2 separate regions of the Homo sapiens genome follow, and region 1 is linked to region 2. The links are contacts of gene promoters, found by promoter capture Hi-C in blood cells and fetal thymus (Javierre and others, 2016). All regions are on one chromosome and are shown on one strand. Each heading gives the region's core, a stretch centred on a gene start or on the middle of the fragment in contact. The rest is flanking DNA. Distances are from core to core; before and after follow the strand shown.

Region 1 (7,546 bases), core at 4,016-6,515, 180 kb before region 2:
ACTACAGCTTTGCAGTAAGTTTTGAAAAAAAGAACTGTGAGTCCTCCAACTTTGTTCTTCTGAATTAAAAAAGCAGTGACACTACCAAATATTTGCACATCAGTATTTATAGCAGTCTTAGGACACAATAGGCAAAAGGCAGAAGCAACCCAAACATCCATCAACAAATGAATGGATAAACAAAATGTAGTATATGCATACAACACAATATTATGCAGCCTTAAAAAGGGAGGAAACTTTGACACATGCTGAAACATCAATAAACCTTGAGGACATTATTATAAATGAATAAGGCAGTCACAAAAGGACAAATACTAAATGATTCCACTCACATAAGGAACAGTCAAATTCATAGAGATAGAAAGTAGAATGGGTTCTTGCCAGGGACTGTTGGAGAGAAAATGGGGAGTTATTGTTAGATGGTTATAGTGTTTCAGTTTTGTAAGATGAAAAAAGTTCTGGTGATGGATGGTGGTAATAATTGCACCACAACGTGAATGTACTTAATAACACTGAACTGTAAAAATGGTTAAAACAGTAAATGTTATATATATTTGACCATAATTTTTAGAAATAAATTAATGTTTGTGAAAAAAGCACTGTGGGGAAAAAAAGGCATATTAAACATGTTCATCTAGTTCTGCCAACATGTGCACCTTTGGAAAACAAAAGAACTTTGTAATATCAAGAGCAATTTAAAGCTACTAACAATCCTTTAAAAATATTTTTAATAAATATATTAGGAAACCAGATTTACACCAACTTATTAATACCTGTTTTCACTCCAAATTCCTGTTAGACATCTCACAATCTATATCTGGTATTCAATCTGCTTGTATGTCATAAATATGTATACTTCAATAGGGGAAATAAATCCTCTACATATTCAATTTCCCTAAGGAATTTTCCTGAATTTTATCCTGTTTTTTTCTTCCATAAAATTAGTTTCAACAACCCAGAAACCAAACCCCCATCTCACAGATTGCCATTCTACAATGGAACCCTGACACTAAATCCAAGAGTATGAGTATCACCCAAATAACCCGTTCTTTGCAACAAGAACATATAATGGAAGATCACTTTCTCTGTTAAAGACATTAATTTCATAATTCACAAAAAATATATAAGAGAGCAAAGATTTTGCTAACACCCCTAAATTTAAAACTTATGCTGGAAAAGCAGCCAAGTGTGGTGGCTCACACCTATAATCCCAGCACTTTGGGAGGCCAAGGCTGGCGGATCACTTGAGGTCAGGAGGTCGAGACCAGCCTGGCCAACATGATGAAACCCCATCTCTACTAAAAATACAAAAATCAGCCAGGCATAGTGGTGTATGCCTATTATCCCAGCTACTCAGAGGCTGAGGCACAAGAATCACTTGAACCTGGGGAATGGAAGTTGCAGTGAGCTGAGATCTCGCCACTGCACTCCAGCCTGGGTGACAGAGTGAGACTCCAACTCAAATAAATAAATAAATAAATAAATAAAATAAAACAAAACGCTGGAAAAGGGACATCTTAAGAAAAAATTAAATTAAATGCCTAAGGTACCCCATGGTTCCAAAATGCTATAACAACTATATTCAAAAAAACCTCTAAATGTAAAGGGAATCAAAGCATGAAAAAACTGTGTTCCTCTTTTTAAAAACAAATAAAACCATAAAGCTTACCTAAATGTATGCTCTGGAAGAATCCCAGAGGACCACCTAGTCCTTTCCCTTCAATTTACTGATGAGGATACTGAGGCCCAAAGTCAACTCCCAAATATTGATATATTATAGACAAAAACTTGCCTTCACCGCATGCCTGTCCTAGTTTTCCAACCTGACTTCAGTGTATTAAAGTATCTGGTTATACAATTTCAGTGATGTTTACATAAGAAAACAAGTAAGTGGTTATATTAGTTTTCCCAAGCTGCTATGACAGGCCACACCTGTGGTGTAAAGGAATGGATACAGTAATGGAAAAACATCAAGTCCCATGAAAAGGCACATGTTTAGGCCTGTAGACTAATTCAGGAGGTCCTCAGCTATTCCTTTCCTCACCTAAATTTCCTCCAATAAGTGGGCCAAATATACACTAAGAACCACAACCAGGCAAGTTATATCAGTATAGAATAATGTTACAAACATACCTTAAACCTGACACACCAAAATCTTATTTTAATAACACACACACACACATACACTCTTTCTCTTTCTCTCTCTCTCAGAGAATGACAATACGAATGGATTTTTTATATGCCATGAGGAATCTGTCTCATTACTTATATGAATGAAAGCATGTGTGACACCAGGCACAGTGGCTCACGCCTGTAATCCCAGCACTTTGGGAGGCCAAGGGAGGCAGATCACCTGAGGTCAGGAGTTCGAGACCAGCCTAGCCAACATGATGAAACCCCGTCTCTACTAAAAATACAAAAATTAGCCAGGTGTGGTGGTGGGCACCTGTAGTCCCAGCTACTTGGGAGGCTGAGGCAGGAGAATTGCTTGAACCTGGGAGAGAGAGGTTACAGTGAGCCGTGATCGCATTACTGCACTCCAGCCTGGGTGACAGAGCAAGACTCTGTCTTAAAAAAAAAAGAAAGAAAGAAAGCATGTGTGGCATTCAACATAAAATCACACATACCCTACAAATCAACTACCTTTAACTGCCCTCTCCCACTCCCTGCTTCCCCAGAGGTCCAGCTGTTGCTCCTAATCAATACATCTCATTACGTACAGTGGTTAAAGCTGCCATTTGGAATGCAATGTTGATGAGGACATACTATTTTCTTTCTTCTAATTTTCAAAGCACTCATACTATTTTGTTCTATCAAAGGACAAGGAAGAGAAGCAGTTTAGTGGTACTAAATCCACACTCATCTGGATCGTCTGGAATACAAAATGCTCTATGCCTCTCTTCCTTTTCTTATAGCATTGCCTCTAATTATGCAATTCCTTCTTTGTCATATCAAGTAGTATTCAGCTTTACAACGTATGTCAGTAACCCACAATCCTTCAAATTCCGCCTTCTGATGGAATATAAAATGCTTTGCAGCAGTTCAAGTGCTGGCACAATGCCAACAGGGATGTTCTCATTTCAAAGGGTAGGCTGCCACCTGCTGACTTGATCCTTTCCCACTCAACATTCAGCACTCCCCAGAAAGCGAACTGATCTGGCACAAGGGTTTTCTTTGCTATGTCATTTAATGCAGTGTGACTTGATTGTTATATTGAACTATATCAACATAATCTTTTAGTTATTTTAAATACAAATTATCCTTTAAAAATCCTAAGCAGACAGTTATGCTTCTGTATAGCTAAAAATTCCTGCCCTATATTCAAAAGGGCAGATAATTTTTTAAGTATATGTTACTTTTTAAATATGCAAGAAAAATGTATTTTAATATATTTCTCTTCACCCTTTCCTTTATTCTTCACTTCTGAAAACAGAAGCTCACTTACTCTCATTAGAAAGTATCAGCGATTTAATTTTTCATCTTGATCAACATCCTCAACCTGAAATTAATAAAGTGTAACTTCACTGCCCTAAAACTATTGTAAAAATTCACAGCAGCTGCTGACAATAAAGCTAAAAGAGTTACTTAGCCATTAGTTAGCTCAGCCTCCTGCCATGACAGGAAACATAAATTTGCAGGTACCCTCTAAGAGCACTGGACTTTTTCAAGTTAAGAGTTAGTTTCTCCCCATTTTAACCTATTTTTTAAGGAAAATAAAATCAGACCAACCTAAATAATTAATGTGAGAGAGGGAAATCCCCTTCCTGAGACAGTAGGACACTGTCTAAGTGAGAGCAAAGGGTAAATTCACTCAACAGCACGCACTTCATAAATACTGCCTGATACAATATTAGGTCCTAGGGATCCATTCTGTGGAACAGCTTAAAGATCTGCTGCCTTTGACAACTTTCTGGTGGGAGTTATGGATTACAGTACAACTTTCAAGATTTAAAAGGTGCAGCGTGAATAGTGATAAAGAACTGCCTGAGTCTGCTTGGAGGGTCCGGAAGAGTTTCACAGGGGAATCTTCTGAAGAAGAAATAGGAGTCTACCAGGTAATCAGACAGGGTAGAGAGACCCAGATAGCAAGTGCAAAGGAAGAGAGAAGAAAAAACAACAGGGGGCTTAAGAGAAACAACCAGTAACTCAACATTAGTTTTAATAAAAATTTTAAAAAGCTCAAGTTCCTAGGTCTGTAGAGTAAAAACTAAAAAATAGATAAAATAAATAAAATAAAAATAAAAGCAGATGAGGTCAGGTAGCTACCTAAGTAGTTCTCAAAGTCTTTGGTAGCCAGGCGCAGTGGCTCATGCCTGTAATCCCAGCACTTAGGGAGGCCGAGGCAGGTGGATCACAAGGTCAGGAGTTTGAGACCAGCCTGACCAACACAGTGAAATTCCATCTCTACTAAAAATACAAAAATTAGCAGGGCATGGTGGTATGCGGCTGTAGTCCCAGCTACTCAGGAGGCTGAGGCAGGAGAATCACTTGAACCCAGGAAGCAGAGGCTGCAGTGAGCCAAGATCGCACCACTGCACTCCAGCCTGGGCGATAGAGCGAGACTCCATCTCAAAAAAAAAAAAAAGTATTTTGTATGTCCTGCTAAGAAATATGCATGTTAAAATCATCACACTGGCAACAAGATAGGGAATGGATTGGAGGGAGGGTAAGACTAAAGGAGTGGTGACTGCTAAGAAAAGAAATAAAACTCTGCAGGCAGAGAAAAATGAAAGATCTTAAGTATCAGGGCAGTAAGAATGGAAAGGAGGGGCCAGATTAGATATAATTATACAACTTCACTGGATGTGGGGAACTAGAAAGAAGGAAGACACTTAGAATTTCCCCAGTGTCTGGCTTAGGTAACTAAATGGATGGTGATATATTCACCAAAATAGGAAATGCACTAGGAGGCATATATTTGCTGGGTGCATGTAGCAGCCTTAGGTGTGGAAATGCTGAGTTTGAAGTGACTGTGGAACACTGAGGTGAAGATGTGCAGTAGAAACTGAATACACAGATCTGAAGCTCAGAACGGAAGTCTGAACTAGAGACAGAAATTCAGGAGTCACCAGTGTATGAGCAGCAGATGGCATCGATAAAATGCCCCAGACAGAAGGGGTAAGCAGAGTGTTATGGATGAGAACCTGGGCAGACAGGCAGCAGAGGACTCAACAGCCTACACAAACCCCTAGATTTTTTGGGAGGAATAAATGAAGCAGTACATGTAATACACTCAGAACAGTACCTGACGCAGTGAGTTGAATAAATATTAGCTATTCAGAAAGCACATGGCATGCTACTACACTGAGTCAGGCAAGATGGAATTGTGAGGTCTAGACACTGCTCCACAGCATAGTTATACTGGATACAGAGAAGACTCAGTTACAGAAGTATAATTCTGTGTTTGAAATATTAGTTAATATATACAAACATATTCAAATACAGTCTAGAAGTATATATACCAAGACGTGTACAGTGGTTATCTCCAAGTTATCTCTGAAAACATGAGCAATTTTTATTTTCTTTATGCTTTTCTATATTTTCCAAATTTTCTACAATGTATATGCATTACTTTTGAAATCAAATGTGTAAAGATTTTTAACTGTTTATTAAAGATCTAAAAGTTTGTAGCAGGAGTCTAAATGATCAGGAAAAATAATCTTTTGCCCAACTACCTCAAGCTCTAAGCAGGTATTAGAAGTAGGAGAAAGCAGACGGACTGGATCCAGAAACTCAACCTGCTATAAATGGAAAAGAAAAGACTAAGCTGGAAGTTCCCAATAAGTGAGATGGAACATGTATGGGTTCTTGGATTTAAGTATAACATAACCTCAGAAAGAGTGGAACAGAAAAAGAGACAACAATTTAAAAAAAAATTTTAAAGACCCTCACTCCTCTTGCCCCGTATGAATACACAAGCAATATAGAGCAATGCCAAAGGAAAGAAGAGAGGGAGATATCAGCTCCTGCCAGCCCTCACGTGAACTGCTTTGCTGAATTCTAAATCAGGTAAGACTAAGACAAAAAATAAAATGTCAAAAGCATTTCAAAGGTATCCCTAACAATAGGAGGTCAAAACACATTCCTTACACTGCAAGTCAGAAGAGTGGGAATTCAAAGATGGACCAAAATGCATTCTGATTATTTTAACTGAGTCAAATGAAATTAATAAAAGCAATGGGCAGAAATCAATCACATGCCAATTAAAGACATCAGCTGGGATAAAACATGTAAGAAGGATAATGTGATGGTTCATTATATGTCAACTTGACCAGGCTATGGCACCCAATTATTAATATTTGGTCAAACACAGGTGTAGAAGTTGTTGTGAAGGTATTTTTTAGATGTGATTAGCGTTTAAATCAGTAGATTTTGAATAAAGCAGATTACCTTTTATAATGTGGGTAGGCTTCATACAATCAATTTAAGGCCTTAAGAGAAAAGACTGCAGGTTCCCGAGCAAAAAGAAATTCAGCCTCAAGGCTAAAACAGAAACCCTGCCTGAGTTTCAAGTCAACCAGTTTGCCCTATGGACTTGCCAGCCAGTTCCTTAAAACTAAACTCACATGAGCCAGTTCCTTAAAAACTAAATCCCTCTCCCTCTCTCTCTCTCTCTCTTCCCGAAAAGATAAAGTTTGCTAATAAAGACCCAACAGGCAGAATCTCCAACTGGAGGCAATGGAATTGAAATTGGCTCAGGCAGCTAGCAATAAAACACCAAAGGTTCTTGGACAGAAGAATGACACAATAAATAATATACATTTAATGACAATTATTTTGGAATCATTTACACTGTATGTGTAATATGAACTAGATCAGAGGGATACTAGAAGACATTTGAGAAAATATAGGCCAAAGGATTCTGCGGGTGGCGTTGGAAATGAAAAGGAATTCATCCATACAATGGGGATATGACAAAAAATTTAGTAGGCATATTTTGTATTTTTAAGATCTTTTAGTAAAAGTTCTATCAGAATACTATTCATATAGGTATTTACTTACCATATTTGTCTCGCAAGCCAACAGTGCATCTAAAGACTCCACCAAAGGCAACATCTTCACCAAATATTACTGAAAAACAGTATTTAAATAATACATTTTATTTAATAATCTCTAAATAATACTAACAATGAGAAATAAGTAATTTAAATGTTTACATTTTAAATCACAAAAGATAAATGGACCATAGATCTCGATCAAGGTTTCTCAACTTCTACATTATTGACATTTTAGACTAGATGATTCTTTTGTTGTGAGGGTCTGTCCTGTGCACTGTAGATACATAGCAGCAACCCTGGTCTCTACCCACTGGATGACAGTTACCACACACACACACACACACACACACACACACACACAGTTGAGACAACAAAAAGTGTCTTCACTTACATTGTTAAATGTAAACAGAGTTGTGGGAGTGGAGACTAAGATCATCCCCAGTTGAGAAAGAACCACTGATCTAGAATCTCATTTGTTTTATCCATGAAGAAAACGAGACCAGAGAAGTGGTAAATTGACTGGCCAAGTCAGAAAGCTAGAGGCAGAA
Region 2 (7,163 bases), core at 4,557-7,056:
AAGGTCATCCCTGAGCTGAATGGTAAGCTCACTGGCATGGCCCTCCGTGTCCCCACTGCCAACGTGTCAGTGGTGGACCTCACCTACCATCTGGAAAAACCTGCCAAATATGATGACATCAAGAAGGTGGTGAAGCAGGCATCAGAGGGCCCCCTCAAAGGCATCCTGGGCTACACTGGGCACCAGGTGGTCTCCTCCGACTTCAACAGTGACACCCACTCTTCCACCTTCAATGCTGGGGCTGGCACTGCCCTCAACGACCACTTTGTCAAGCTCATTTCCTGGTATGACAATGAATTTGGCTACAACAACAGGGTGGTGGACCTCATGGCCCACATGGCCTCCAAGGAGTAAGACCCCTGGACCACCAGCCTCAGCGAGAGCACAGGAGGAAGAAAGAGGCCCTCACTGTTGGGGAGTCCCTGGCACACTCATTCCCCACCACACTGAATCTTCCCTCCTCACACATTCCATGCACACCCCTTGAAGAGGGAGGGGCCTAGGGAGCCCCATGTTGTCGTGTACCATCAATAAAGTCCCCTGTGCTCAGCCAAAAATAATAACAATCATAATAGTTTAGGCAGAAAGGATAACATAAGTAAAAAAAAAAACTTGTAAAGCAGCCAGAAATAATTGAATTTTAACATTCACAGGCCACAAAAAGAGGAGAAACCGACAAGGATGAGAAAGAGGGAACAGATATATAAGTGATGTTACAGAAGTCAATGTTTTCCCTCAGTTGTTATTCACATTTGCTTTTGTGTATAGTGTGTATGGATTCTTCAGGTTCAAGACAGTTTCTCCAAGATCAGAGGGGGGTCATTTATCTTTGTATGGTTCACAGGCAGGTGAGTCCTACTGCAAAGTTGCTGAGTCCATAAAATTATGGTTCATTTACTGGAAAGTTTTTAAGCATTTATTCACATATAACCATTTTCCTTAAGAAGCATTCCTGGGTCATCGGGATGGCTGGTAGGAGATAGCTTCTGGAATCAACTAAATGCTTGCCTAGAACCAAGTATTTTTCTGATGTCTTGGGTTTTTAAAAGTAAGTCCTTGAAATACAGCTGGTTTCTTTCCTCTATCATGGTGAGTTTATTTCCCCTCAGGCTCTTTTTATCTTCTCCTACCCTGAAACCAGATTGCTCTTCAGTAATAGGAATATGAGAGCAGGGTGAAAAGGCATTCCCCATTAACACTTGGAATTTATTACCAGATTTCTTGGACCAAAGTTTGTTGATATCCATGAAGACAGATATGTTAGAGTAGTAAGTGAAGGAAATCACAACTCAGACAATACTCAATTAAGAGTGACAAAACTTTTCTTGGTATAGCCAAGCCAGGAAAAACGGGCAGAACCACCATGGTTTGGCCCTCTTATCACTATATGCTTGAATGTATGACTAAAAGTGTGGGATATGGCCTTGAAACATGGCTATGTGAAGAGAGACTGGGCTAATGGCTTTGACCGGTAAAGAATACAGATTGGGTGTACATATTGGGTCACACCAAAACAATGAATATCCAATGTAAGTAATTTGTAGTTGTCATTCTTAGGAAAGGAGTAGCATATGTACCTTAGAAATATGCATCAGGGGTTGCAAAGCTGAGAAGGCATTCTGATATATGATTCTGGTGGAGGTGGTGGCGGGTGAACCTAACTTATTCCCAGCATTCAATATGCCTAGTTGAAAATCATTATAATAAATTTAGTAAGAGACAAATAGCAAACTGGGAAAATATATTTGCAACATATGCAGACAAACTGTTAATAACTTTATTATAAGAAGATGTCTTATAAATCAATAAGAAAAAGTAGACACAACTAATGGAAAATGTCTAAAGAATTCAAACAGGCAATTCCTGAAAGAAGGCTAAAATTGCAATAAACATGATAATCTGTCAAGCAACAATGAAATATCAATCTTTACCTCTCAGACTGGTAATGATTACAAAGCATACATTCAGTAAAGAGAATGGGGTGGGGAAATGAGCACCTTTTCATAAATTTTGGTGGAATTGTGAATTGGTACATTTCTGGAGGTTAAGTGGGCACGATGTGTCAAAATTTGTAAACTTAAAACCCTTTGACCAGGTACAGTGGCTCACACCTGTACTCCCAGCACTTTGGGAGGCCAAGGCAGGCAGATCACATGACACCAGGAGTTTGAGACTAGCCTACCTAACATGGTGAAACCCTGTCTCTAATAAAAATACAAAAATTAGCTGGGTGTGATGGCACACACCCGTAATCCCACCTACTCGGGAGGCTGGGGCATGAGAATCCCTTGAACCCGAGAGGCAGAGGTTGCAGTGAGCCGAGACTGGGCCACTGCACTCCAGCTTGGGCGAGACAGTGGGATGCCGTCTCAAAACAAAAACAACCACCTCTCCACCCCTAAAAAAAGTCCCAAACCTTTGACCCAGAAATTTCCCTTGTAAATATTTATGCTAAGAGTTATTAAACAAGTGCACAAAATTGCATATTGTGGATACTAATAGCCCAATTGATACAGTAGTTCAAATTTGAAACAATCTAAATGCTAATCTATAGGGTAAATGGCTACATAAATGAGTGTGTATCCATATAATGGAATATTAAGTACTTGGTATTACGTTGAAAAGTATTCCTGATGTATTAAATTTTTAAAAAAGCAGATTATAGAGTAGCATTATTTTAAAAAACCATCTGTGTTAAGAAAAAAAGGCTTATATAGGCATGTAAAATTTATTTAGAATGGGAGACAAAATTATAGGGGGGATTTTCATTTTGTTTCTTTTTTTGTTATTTTATCTGTGCTAATGTATTATCAGGATAATCTATGTCCATTTAAATAAAATAAAAATAATTCATACAAGCTAACAAAAAGGTAAACATCTTTAAAAGTTTGAATGAAACATATCTCGTGGAAAACATTGTAATTCCAAGTTAGTCAAGCACCTGTGTTATATGATGGCTATAACGTGGGGGAGGAGTAATGAGCAGAATAAAACAAAAGACTGGAACTAATAGTAGTTAGTGTTATCAACAATTTTCTCCATTTTCTCTAAGTAGCATCCATGTAGCAAAATTTACTTCTAGAAGATTCAAAGTCTTTCTCTACAACTCTTTAATTAGGTTATTTCTTTTTACTCCTGACTCAACAGGCTTCCAGGTTCACTTTTCTTTGAAAGCAGAGGTTGCTGACAATATTACCAACATGGAAAGGTGGACTAGGAAAAAAAAGATGGATAGCTTGATTTATGTTGCTAACCTTGTATGGACTGTAGGACATTTAAAAATATTTTGTACTGGGTGTGGTGGCTCACTCCTGTAATCCCAGTGGTTTTGAAGGCCAAGGCAGGAGGATTGCTTGCAGGCAGGAATTTGAGACCAGCCGGGGCAACACAGCCAGTCCTCCTTCTCTATCAGCTATTTAGGAGGCTGAGGCAGGAGGATGAGGCAGGAGGATAGCTCGAGCCCAGGAATTCGATGTTGCACTAACCTATGATTACACCACTGCAATCCAGCCTAGCTGATAGAGTGAGACCCTGTTTCTAAAAAGAAAAAAATATTGCTATTTTATACAAAAAAATTTATGATAAAATGTCCTCTCCTTTAGGTTTTGTAGGTAACTGTATCCTATTTGCATTTGATCCACATGAAAGAACTCTGTTCTCAAAGTTTGCAGATGCTGTTGTTGCTTGTATTTGCTTTTACTCTGTTATGATGCTACCAAGATTTTGGTTAGATGGCTGTTATTCTAGGTGGCAGACATGCGGGTTTCCCTCCCTTTGCACAACTAAACAAGGTAGGCTTTGGTTCTGGGCAGTCACTGGTATTTACAAACCACTTATTCATGCCAGGTAATAGGGTTCCAGATTGGGTAAGTTTTATGTTCTGGTTCTTGGTATATGTTTAGACAGCTTATAAATGTAAATAAACATTCTACTCTTACAGGTGGAGTGTGGACACGGTGATATCCGTGTGACCGCCATTCCCAGCTGAAGGTTATCTCATCTATGATTTTCTTATACGTGACTGGCACCCCCTAGTGAATAGGGACTTAAGTTGACCTCCACGGTAGAAGAAATACCAGGGAAATACCTGAAGCTGTTTTAACAATTTCTCCTTGTATTAAGTATTATGCTGCAGTTTTGCGTGTGTGAATGGAAGTATGGGTAGAGATCTGTTCTCCCTAAAAACTCCAGGATTCCACAATATAGAAATAGTAATCAAATTTTTAGGTGAAGCTCGAACTAATCCGAACTTTGTTAGATCATCACTGTAAATGAATGGGTATTTATCCACTCCCTAAATGAAGAGACTTGACTGGATTTCTTTTTTTTATATAGCTACTAGAATCTGTTACACATAATTTAGGATTGAGACTTGAGAAATTGTCATTCCAATCCAGAAAACTTTAGATTTGCAAATATATTTGACAAATTAATAAATTAACATTTTATTTGGTTAATTTCAAGAATAGGGCATTTAAAGAAGTCTGTGTTTGCTTTAGTTCGGCAATAAAGTTCCTGCCACTCACAATAATCCTTATTATTCTCTGAAAGACATGTTATATTTTTGTCATCATAAATATTTATTAATTACTGTTTATAGCACTGGGTTAGGTACTCATCAAGCAACCAAAAATAATTCTTACCATCTAGGATGCTTCCAATATAAAATATAGACAATATATAACCAGGTCAATTGGGAAATAGATCATTTCAGTATGATAAAAGATAGTATTCACATTAACAGTGTGAAAGGGCAGGAACAATAAGACACTTGACTCACTGGTCTTTAAAATGTAGCATCCAAAATGAGCAAGTGGAGAAAAGGTTAAACAAGTAGGTGACACATTTAAAAAACAAGTAGATGAAAGGACTATTCTCAAAAATCTTGTTTTATGTGAGAAACCATCAAATTATGAATTCCAAGTACTGTATTTTTTTTACTTTTCAAGGGTAGGCTCTCCTATACCTTATCTAAACAATTTTTCAAAATAGCCACAATTACTTTGTTTTCCTCTCTACACTAAATTGCCCTTTGCCTCTTGAGCGATTATCTTTTTCAGATTCACCTCAACTTCTTCAGGTTCAAGCGGACTTCACCTGTAAGCCCCTCTCGGTTCTCCCTCTTCTCTGAACTACTAATGGCCTAATTTAGCACAATTATATTGCTTTGTTCATTCCATGTATAGTAAAAGAGTCTACAAAACACATGCAAGCATTCATGCAATTATATGTTGATTTGTTCATGGGTCGACCCCAAAGTCTATTCTCCATCGCTGAAGCATGGAAGACAAATACCCTTCACTTCTTCAGAGGCATAACACATGCACTTCTCTTGTCATGGTGACAGGCATGTGCTGGTGGAGGTCAAAGAAACAGGAACACAAGTGAAATCGAGGTGAGTGTCAGGTAAGGACCAAAGCACCACGCCTACCTCATCTTTGCCCACAGAACACCCATTCTTCCCGTGTCCTGTTTCCCAGGACGTATCCGGGGCGGATAAGAAATCACCCGTGGGGAGGCGGTGAACTCCTCCGCAGGGGCCGATGCCCGGGACAGGGGCGGGGAAGGCTAATGAGGCGACTTGTGCGGGGAGGGGCCAAGGAGGAGCCCAGGTGTCCCGCTCCCGCTCGACGGCGCGCGCCTGCGCGAGCCCAGTTGGCGTCGCACCCTTGAGCGCAGCATCCCTACGCCAGCGAGTCCCAATACTAGGGAGGGAGGGAGGGAGGAGGGGCGGCCGGCCCCCCGCCCCCGCGCGCGGCCACGTGACGCCGGCTGAGGAGATTGGAGGGGCGGCTGCGCGAGGCTGCAGACTGGTGCAGCGCACTGTGCTGGCGGCTGGGCCTCCTCCACCTCCTCGTCTTTCTCCCGGGAACCTTGACGACGCCTTCCGCTTGGCCCTGCCTTCTGCCGCATCCCCGCCGCCGCGGCGCCTTGAGGAGCAGGAGAAGACGCAGCCGGGCCGCCGCCGTTAGAGGGGTTCCCGGCCGCCGCTCGCCCCGTCGGCCGCCACCGCCTCCGGGGTCAGCCCTCTCTCTGGGTCTCCGCTTTCTCCTGCCGCCAGCGCCCGCTCATCGCCGCGATGGGGCTCCTGGACTCGGAGCCGGGTAGTGTCCTAAACGTAGTGTCCACGGCACTCAACGACACGGTAGAGTTCTACCGCTGGACCTGGTCCATCGCAGGTAAAGCCGCTGACTTCCCCATCCTCGCTCGGTCCCCCGCGGGGGGTCACCGGCCCCTGGTCTCGCAGCTCCCGGGCCCGGCCCCACAGGCCCCCGCGCCCTGCGGCTTTCGGATGCTGCGGATCAGCGGAGGGGCCGGCGCGGGCACTGCGGTTGAGCACTGGTTAATCTGATCCGAATGTTAAGGCCTCCCCTCCCCCGACACTCGCAGGGTTTTCTTCTGAGCTCCCTCCATCTCTCATCAGCTCTCGGATGCGGGAGCTGACATATCAGATGGAGCCTGTGCAGCCAGGAGCTCCTCGCAGGAGCCGCCCCACCCTGTGCTCCCACATCTCCCGAGCTCGCCTCCCTCTTCCCCGTGCACAGGATTCCTTTTAACATTTAGTCCTATTTTGTATGGAGAGCGGGCTGGGGAGGAAGGAGGGCTTCAGGGGCAGCTGAAGGTACAGGAGGTTTCTTCAGCCTCCTGGTCGCTTTGACAGAACCCTGCTAATCTTTTCTTCTATCTAGCTCCTTCATCTATAGTATAATTCGGACTGAAAAGTAAAATAATATTGTTTGGCTCCTTGAACCTTGAAGAATGTTAGTTTCCGAGGCATTTTCAACAGCAAATATGTTTGAAGTGATTGTCTATAATGGCTTTGCGCACTGCAGTGCAGTCAGGGGGAGGGGGAGGCCAAAACACCGGGGAAGAAATCAGTCTTTAGGAAGGGGGTCTCTACAGCAACACCTAGAGGTTGTCCCAGATGCCTACATATATACAGTTCTTAAATCAGCAAACTTTTCTTTAGCTGTTGCAGTTAATTTGGCAGGGCTGTCAATTGTTTGATTTATGCAGCTTTCCTAGCGTCCAACTGTGATATTATATTTTTACATTGTACTGTTTATTTCTTCATTTGCTTCGCTGCTTTTGATTTTAAAGCATTTAAAAGTCTTTGAAATCTAAAATAAGGTTTAAAGGATTTCAGAAATGATTTTACGAGG

What was found. Contacts are between HindIII fragments. The CHiCAGO score rates a contact against its expected background, and 5 or more counts as called.
Region 1: a fragment that was not itself captured here is called in contact with the fragment with the promoter of ELOVL4 in region 2 in 1 of 17 cell types (fetal thymus); the score reaches 5.4 in fetal thymus.

What each region holds. Positions count from the first base shown.
Region 1 is chr6:80,128,686-80,136,231 of GRCh38, reverse strand. It overlaps BCKDHB (branched chain keto acid dehydrogenase E1 subunit beta), which reads right to left. Exons shown (of 10, transcript NM_183050.4): 3 at 7,003-7,071. Among named protein-coding and RNA genes, the nearest start is that of BCKDHB, 26 kb to the right of the region's middle. The HindIII fragment of the contact is 7,198 bases long and covers 1,667-7,546 here.
Region 2 is chr6:79,946,196-79,953,358 of GRCh38, reverse strand. It overlaps ELOVL4 (ELOVL fatty acid elongase 4), which reads left to right and starts at 5,806. Exons shown (of 6, transcript NM_022726.4): 1 at 5,806-6,179. The coding sequence starts at 6,080. LOC124901350 reads left to right here and starts at 3,726. Exons shown (of 2, transcript XM_047419628.1): 1 at 3,726-3,791; 2 at 5,348-5,972. The coding sequence starts at 5,544. The coding sequence ends at 5,972. It overlaps LOC124901351 (a long non-coding RNA gene), which reads right to left and starts at 5,554. Exons shown (of 3, transcript XR_007059656.1): 1 at 5,432-5,554. It also overlaps the pseudogene GAPDHP63. RefSeq lists a silencer at 5,697-5,746. The HindIII fragment of the contact is 8,446 bases long and covers 1-7,163 here.